2 separate regions of the Homo sapiens genome follow, and region 2 is linked to region 1. Evidence: promoter capture Hi-C in 16 types of primary human blood cells and fetal thymus (Javierre and others, 2016). All regions are on one chromosome and are shown on one strand. The core of a region is centred on a gene start or on the middle of the fragment in contact, and the rest is flanking DNA. Distances in the headings are between cores, read along the strand shown. Region 1 holds the start of SAXO1 (stabilizer of axonemal microtubules 1). Region 2 has its middle 220 kb from the start of SH3GL2.

The links. The method cuts DNA at HindIII sites, captures the fragments that hold promoters and counts their contacts. A CHiCAGO score of 5 or more calls a contact.
Region 2: a fragment that was not itself captured here is called in contact with the fragment with the promoter of SAXO1 in region 1 in 2 of 17 cell types (endothelial precursors and M2 macrophages); the score reaches 8.5 in endothelial precursors.

The regions. Positions count from the first base shown.
Region 1 is chr9:19,030,521-19,034,798 of GRCh38, reverse strand. SAXO1 (stabilizer of axonemal microtubules 1) reads left to right here and starts at 1,590. Exons shown (of 4, transcript NM_153707.4): 1 at 1,590-1,928. The coding sequence starts at 1,891. RefSeq lists enhancers at 1,161-1,714, 1,715-2,268. The HindIII fragment of the contact is 8,262 bases long and covers 171-4,278 here.
Region 2 is chr9:17,798,456-17,802,560 of GRCh38, reverse strand. No RefSeq gene overlaps it. Among named protein-coding and RNA genes, the nearest start is that of SH3GL2, 220 kb to the right of the region's middle. The HindIII fragment of the contact is 573 bases long and covers 1,148-1,720 here.

The sequences.
Region 1 (4,278 bases), core at 341-2,840:
TCTCTGTCAATGGCAATGGATGGCATGCAGGTTTTGCTTTGACTTCCAATAGCTCCCACCTCTTTTTTGTCTGGCCATGTTTCCATCCTCCCCTGTAGAGTTCTGACTTCCTACTGGGAAGGCAAGGAGCAGCTTCCCACCCCACTGTTCTTAAGAATGATCAATAAGCTTTGCTCCTGTCTGAATCTACCTTGCTGACTTCCTATAACTGGGGTTGGAACTCTCTCTCTGTAAAATGTCAGATAGTGAATATTTTAGCTTTTGTGGGCCAAGAGGCAAAATCGGGAATGTTTACACAAATTTTTTGAAAAAATTCAAAACTTTATTCACAGACACTGAAATTTGAATTTTAGGTAAGTTTCATTTGTCATGTAATATTATTATTTTAATTTTTTCAACCATTAAAAAATATGAAAACCATTCTTAGCTCAATGGCCAGATAGAGTCAAGTGGCCAACTGCAGACAATAGTTTGCTGACCTCTATTCTAGAGCCTATTACTGAAGGAAAAAACCTAACCCCCCCCACACAAAAAGAAACCCTCTGAATATTAAGTGTCTTGCAGTCCAAGATGCCTCTGACTGACTCATTCACTAAAATGAATGGAAAGAGTTAGGAAGCATAGGAAAGAAAAGCATAAAGATTGTCAATACTTTAAGCTCCCATTTCCCATAAGCAGGAAGTCAAAATGTTTTAAGTCCAAACAACTGGCCAGAGCAGTGTCTTTTGAACTTGCTTCATGACCAGAATCACCTGGCTTCTTGTTGAAGCTAGATTCCCGGACTAGAGGTTTTGATGCAAGGGAGACTTCTGGGTGGGGGTGTGCTCTCGGGATCAGGTAAGCTGAAGAAACACTATTCCAGGGGGTGTAAAGGAACCTCAAAAGCTGTAGTTCTTAAAGTGTGGTCCGTGGCCCAGCAGAACCAGCATTACCTGAGAGCTTGTAAGAAATGCAAGTCTTTGGCCTACCCTAGAAACACTGAATCAGAAACTGGGGGTGGGGTCTGGCAATCTGGTTTTCATCAAGCCAGGTGGTCCTGATGCCAACTAGAATTTGAGAACGCCTGCTTCAAGGCATCATTACCAGCATCTGGAGAAGTGATTGAGAACCCACCTGAGCAGTGAAGGCCTGGGCGCTCTTAAACCACTGTGTTCTCAAGAGCGCAGGTCTGTGGGTGAGAGCAATTCTAACAGACATCTGAAGCCAAAGGCCTAGGTTTCCACAGGAAGATCTGGAAACCCTGTTCAAGGCAAGCCTTTTGGAAGTCAAGGCTGTATTCCCCTAAGAGGGGGCACCATGGATCCTAGAGATAGCAAATGCCACCCAAGGTGATGGTGAGGGAGTTTTCAGCTTTTCTGCACGTGTGACCGTTTACTGCACCAGGAGCTTTCTAGTGACTTCCACCTTTTTCAGGTTTTTCCAAGGTTCACCGGGGAACCCCTGTCCTGGGCCTGCCAGTGAGGTGCTGGGAGCTTCCCGACCTCACAAGCGGCTCTTGTGATGTAATTGCCACCTGAGGCGTGCCCCTCCTGGCCCTGGCGACATCACAGAGGCTACCTGGGCACGGACCCCGCAGCTTCCTGGGGCCCAGTCAGCCGCTCCAGGTGCTTAAGTCTGGACTGCGGAGGCCGGGGCGGTGGCGTGCAGGGTGAGGTCTCCCGGGCTGGCGCGCGTGCAAGCCCCCTGCTGCTACCTCGCGCTAGGCCAGCTCCAGGAGGGCAACAGACGACAGGACATTGCAAAAGGGCCACTTAAATTTTCCTTCGAGTAAACAGAACACCTGCCAAGACCCTCGAGCCTGGGCGTGCCCCAAGACAGGTGGTTGGGGTCTAGGAGTCGGCTGCAGCTGGCGATGCTCTGAGGGGACGTCAGGGCCTCAGGATCGCCCCTATGAAGACGAAGTGCATCTGTGAACTGTGCTCCTGCGGGTAAGGTGGCCACGCCCAGGGCAAGGCTGGGGGAGCCTGGGTTTTCAGACTCCCGAGGAAGGGAAGCCTCCCCCAGCTGCTTCATCAGGCGGCATCACGGTGGGTTCGTCCACTTGCTACGTTTTTTAAGCCACAATTGTGTCAACTAGCGTTGTGCCCGCGGACGCCACATCAGTTCTGGCGAATGTGGCTGTTTTCGGGCCTTCTGTGCCGCTTCACTTGAGAACTGCAGGAGGGTTGAAAATGGGCGTGACCGCGCAGTCTGCACTCCCTTCCCTGAAGCCCAGAAAGTGTCAGCCAAGGAGGGAGAACACCTGGCCCAGTGGGACCAGTCTTGCTCCTTTTGGGAAAGTGATAGGATGGGAGGAGAATTCCTGTAGTATAACTGAATTTCTCATTCAGAGAGATTGTTACTTTGTCAGAGAAGTATAAGGTATTAGTAAAACTTGTTCCACATTGTGTAGAGTTGAATAAGGATAATGAAAACATTACTTTCACAGTCGCCTGGCCTGCCAGGTCTCCCTTCTAACCTTTAAGGACCATCTTTGGGTGGAAGCGCAGTAAAGGTGGTCCTGGGGGAAATCATGGACTTTAGTCAGAGTCCCACGGGCTGACTGGTCTGCTGTCACTCACATGATCTCTTAGAGGCTCCTTCTATCTGCTTCCCAGGGCAGCTGGGTTTCTGCTTGGCTGGGGCAGGGAGTGGGCAGCAGAGGAGCAACAGGCAAGAGGGTTCTGAGGTCACCTTTCCTGGGCTGTCATTAATTGTGGGATCTTAGATTGGTAACTAAACTCCAGGTCATAGTCGCCTCATCTGTACCAACAATACGTACCTCATAGGACTATTGTAAGAGTTAAGATCATGTATGTGAGTCCTGGTACATGGATTGTGCTTAATATGTTAGTGTCCTGAAATCTGAAAAAAGGGCAAATATGACACATGCATATAAAAATGGTATCAGTAGTGTGGAGAATTAAAGGGCACTCTAAAAACTGGATCAGCAACCTTCTATATCTCTGGCATCAATAAATGGTTCCCAACTCTGGCTGCTGATTAGAATCACACAGGGAGTTTGAAAACTATCAGTTGCTCAGGCCGTTGAATTGATACTCTCAGAGTGGGCCCTGTCAACTGTCTAAAGGTGATTCTGGCCATTTGCTAGGACTGGGACTCACTGAACTAGATCATGTACAAACGTGGGTCTTGCTTTTGAGCTTTGTTAAGTGGGGCCAGAGCAGTGTATAGTCTAGGACTACATGTTACCAAGCAAAACCTTTTTTTCTAAGGCCGCCTTTCTTTTTTCTTTTTGGAGGCAGTGTCTTGCTCTGTTGCGCAGGCTGGAGTGCAGTGGTGCCATCTCGCTTCACTGCAACCTATGCCTCAGGGTTCAAGTGATTCTCCTGCCTCAGCCTCCTGAGTAGATGGGATTACAGGCACATGCCACCATGCCTGGCTAATTTTTGTATTTTTAGTAGAGACAGGGTTTCAACCATGTTGTCCAGGCTGGTTTTGAACTCCTGATCTCAGGTGATCGCCTGCCTCGGCCTCCCAAAGTGCTGGGATTACAGGCATGAGCCACTAAGGCCTTCTTTCTACTGGGATGCTTTACATTACCCTCCTGTGTCCTCCTGCATTGTTCTAGGCATTGGGATTGAATGTATAAGACATAGTCTCCATCTTTGCACAGCGTGCAGTCTAGGTAGGAAGGCAGAATGCTCATTAAGAGGTGCAGAGCATATATAGTGAGAAGTCTCCCTCCTGCCCCTGCAGTAGGGTTATGACTCATTTGGGTGTTCCTTCTCTGACTCTGTTCTCATTCTGTCCCTGCAAAGGAGTCACTTTCCATTGGAAGCAGAGTCTGTTCTTGTGTCTCTTCTCCTTTTCTTCTCTCCTCATCCTGTATTTTCTCCTCCATTTTATGGTTTCAGCCAATAGTTTCTCCTGTCTTCTGAATTCCAGTTTCATTTTCATCTTCTCAAAGTGCTTTGGTGATCCATCTGTCTCATTAATCTCAACTTCAACAACCTTCAAACATTATTCTGGTATCTGCCCCATTCATGGTGCCAGCAATCTTCCATTCACCCTGGGTGAAAATTTTGAATCATCTCTTACTCTCCCTCAAACAGAACATTGAATCTTTTTCTTCTTCTTATTTTTTTATTTTTTTTATTTTTTTGAGATGGAGTCTTACTCTGTCGTGCAGTGGCGCGATCTCTGCTCACTGCAACCTCCGCCTGCTGGGTTCAAACGATTCTCCTGCCCCAGCCTCCCAAGTAGCTGGGATTACAGGTACCCACCACCATGCTGGGCTAATTTTTGCATTTTTAGTAGAGATGGGGTTTCACCATG
Region 2 (4,105 bases), core at 185-2,684, 1.2 Mb after region 1:
GTTTAAGCAGCATGCTATGTGAGAAAGAAAGACCTTAAATGCAGCTTATGTATATGATGACTATATAACCACCAGGAAAATTGGTCAGATTGGCAACTGATTAATTTTGGGGCAGGCCAGTAGAGGGCAATCTAGGTCCCACGAAAATACTTTGGGAAAAATAAAAGAACAAGAATTTAAAAAGAACATAAAAGACAATACATAATTAGATGGCACCAAAATTTTGATGATTGGGTATGTGAAGTCAGTAAGTCTATGTTTCCTCAGACTCGAACCACCTTCCTTCTTCATCCCTATTTCATACATAATAAATTCAGATCTTTTTTCATTCCAGAAAAGAAAAACCAAGAGAGAAGTGTGTGTCACTGTTAATGTCAGGGATTAACCTGTGCATTCTGCAATACTGTTAACTTTCTCTTTTCATGGGAAGCACTTGTATTGCAATGTGAGAGGAAGCTGGTCCCTCATATCCCCTTCTTGGTTGCCAAGCCATCTCTTAAATGGTCTTCTTCCACTGCACTCACAAATCAAAGAATTCCCAAATTTGAAGGCGGGTTCTTCAGAGTGTGGCTTTGAACGCTGCCTCTGTAAGAACCATGGGGTGGGGCAGGATGCCTGTCACCCATGTGGATCCTGGCCCTGTTCTAGAAAATGGAATCAGAACGTCGGTGTCAGCCCCAGAAATCCGCATCTTAGCACGTATCCCTCAGGGTTCTGGTATGAACTGCAGGGTGTGACCCACTGATCTAAACAAGAAAAGCAAGAGCTCTAAGAGCAGCCCATCTGAGGAACATGGGGCTAACTGCAGACATATCTCTCTGATTCCCTCGCAAGAGGGGAAGCGGAAAGCAAAGCGTAAACGAATGACCAGGAAAGAAGTGGGAATTCCAAGTCAGCACAGACTCAAATCTAGCGCATCTTTAATGTCGTCAGCAAAGTTGGAAAAACACAGGATGTCCTGAATTTGCAAGATCACTCTGAGTGGAAACATGCATTGAAGTTACTGGATCAATCAATAAATGCAAATGTCTCAGAGCAAAACCAGTAGGTAAGAAAGTCAGTGAGCAGTTGGCTACTTATTTAAAAAGTTTTTATACACACAAGAGCTCCCCAGACTTGCAGGAATGGGAGAGTTGCTTGGGAAGCTTGCTAAAAAACCTGATGCTGACCCTCAAGGGCATGTTTAAGAGGCTACCGGGGCACAACTCAAGTGGGACTTCTGGGGTCTGTAAAAAATGCCTGGATTTCCCTAAGCCATCATTCTCCACCAAAGTTTTATTCAGTGTGTGAGCCCAAAGAACACTTCAGTTGAGGAAAATGACTGAATATGTCTGTTTTCTGGTCATTCTCAACACCAAAGGCAGGGCCAAGAGCTGGCTCTTCCTAAGTTTATTTGGTAGAGCAGCACTACTTCAAGTGTGGTCCAGGGACTGGCAACATCTCTATGGAGCTTGTTAGAAATGCACATTCTCGGGCCCCACTCCAGACATTCTGAACGAGAACATCTGGAGATGGAGGCCAGGCATGTTTTAACAATACCCAGGTGATAAAGCACATATCAGTTTTAGATGCCCTGTAGAGTTTCTCCTAAATCTTTCAATGGTAAATACCACTTGCTAGGGGCCCCTCTATGGGCAGTTCTGATTCTGAGCAGCTGTAATGAGAACCTGGAAATCCAATTTGTAGTTATCTCCAGGTGACTCTTATTATCAGGTAAGCTTAAGAAACTCTAGGTTCTTGATTTCTTATCTCCACGTGTCCTGGAGGCAGACGTTTTGATAAGGGATGCACATAAAAATCACTGACAGAGCTATTTAAAAATGGATTCTTTGGCCTTTCCCCAAACTAGCAAATCATCATATTCAGTTTCCTTTTCAAGAAAGTGGTAGTGAGATGCTGTGCTTCATTCTTTTGCTCCCAAAGCTAACAGCCTGCTCCCCTGCTGTCAAGAATCACAGTTGTCTCCTGCCCTTAAGTGGAAGGCTGCCATCACTTAGGCATACATGATAGCAGAGTAACATTCAACTGCCTGACTGTAAGCAGTTAGCATTCAATGGGTCCTTAAAAAATAGCTTTGTTCTTTTCCTTGACAGCCCCTTTAACCAAGGGGCTCATAACTAGTCCCCAAAAGCTGGGCCTAGAAATTGCTGGTATGGCCTTGCAGCACTCTAAGTCTCTTCCACGAACCACCACCCAGAGTTCTAATGGCAGCTGTCTGCCTCCTTCTTCAGCATAACGTCCCTCCTTCATCACTTCCCCATCTCCGTGGGATGGAAGGCAGTCTGCATGTTTAGCAGTAGTTCTTAATCTGGCTAATGAAACACAGGCTTTAAAAGTGCCCACATACTGTTTCCTGGGATCTCAGTGAAAGAAAATAAAAGTGCCCACATATTAACGGTTTCATCCAGAACACTAGAAGCTATCTTGAAAATGGAGTGTTGGGCTAATCTCAATTTCCTAAATAATGTATGCAGAACAGGACTTGGCACGTTCCAGAATGTATGTTGTGTACTATACACAGCCCCAGGGAAACTTCCATTCTAGGTCGTATCATTCTTATTGTCTACTGATTTATGGCAAAGAGAAACTACGTGAAAATAACTATACTCCTTGAGTTTTCTCTTTAAGACCTATTAAACCTAGTAGACCTATTAGAAAAAGAAGCGAAACCATTGCCCCACTGAATTTATTAATCATTTTAGTTCAGTTTAATTCTGCTTCTGTTTCCACTTTAGGCAGTTTGTTTCAATGATTTGACTTGGAAGAACAAGTGTTTTCTGGCAAGTTCAACTTCTAGTGGTGGTCCACTGAGTAATTTCCATACATAAGGTTTTGTACTAAGGTATTAACTATACCTCAATAAAAATAAAGAATTCAAACAGTCCTGTATCTGGTGAGTGCATTAGTAATGGTCTCCAAAACTCTTCCTTAAATCAAGAGTAAGTTCTTCCTGGAATCTGTGGTCATGACACTTGTTTCATGTGACATTGACTCATAGTGAGATTACTGTATTTGGCACAAAGTCTTGCTGTTTTCACTTTGGGGTTATGGAACTGATATTAAAAAGGTTCAGTTGATATGAGTGCATCACATTAAACATAATGGAATGCTTTTCCTTCAAATATGGTCGAATGCATCTATGTCTCTTTCTGGACTCGCTATTCTGTATATACAATCTATTCTGCTATCTTTGTATCAAAACCATACTACCTTAATTACTGTAACTTTTTAATGTTTTATATCTAGAAAGAGTCCTCCAACTTTGTTCTTCTTTGAGAAAAAACATCTTTTTTCTTTTCCACAAAAATTTTATGACAGGCTTAAAAGTTGAACTTGTCAGTTCTCGAACACATGGAAACAAACTTCCTAAGATTTCTGGTTGAAATCGCACTTAATAAACAGCTAGATTTGGAGGAAAATGATACCTTTACAAGACTGAGTTTTCCAATCTAAAAACACAGAATATCTTTCAATTGCTTTCTCAAATATGTTCCATAATTTTCTATGCAGAGATCAGGTACAATCTTGTTAGATTTGTATCTATGGTTTTGATTTTTTTTTTTTTTTTTTGAGACGGAGTCTCGCTCTGTCACCCAGGCTGGAGTGTAGTGGCGTGATCTTGGCTCATTGCAAGCTCCGCCTCCTGGGTTCAGGCCATTCTCCTACCTCAGCCTCCTGAGTAGCTGCAACTGCAGGCACTCGCCACCACACCCGGCTAATTTTTTGTATTTTTAGTACAGATAGGGTTTCACTGTGTTAGCGAGGATGATCTCGATCTCCTGACCTCGTGATCCACCCGCCTCGGCCTCCAAAAGTGCTGGGATTACAGGCGTGAGCCACCGGGCCCGGCTGGTTTTGATTTCTGATGCCTTTGTGAATGACATTTTTTTAAATTACATTTTTTCTGATTGCTATTGATATATAGAAATAGATTTTTGTATATTCCTCATATCTAGTGATCCTATTAAATTCACTGATTTTTCTAATAGTTTATCTTTGGATTCTTTATGATTTTCTATAGTCACAATATCATTGGTATTTCTTAAAATTGCTTTAGAGAACTGATCTGTAATACTCTAGAACTCATACAGCTAGAAAAAAATAT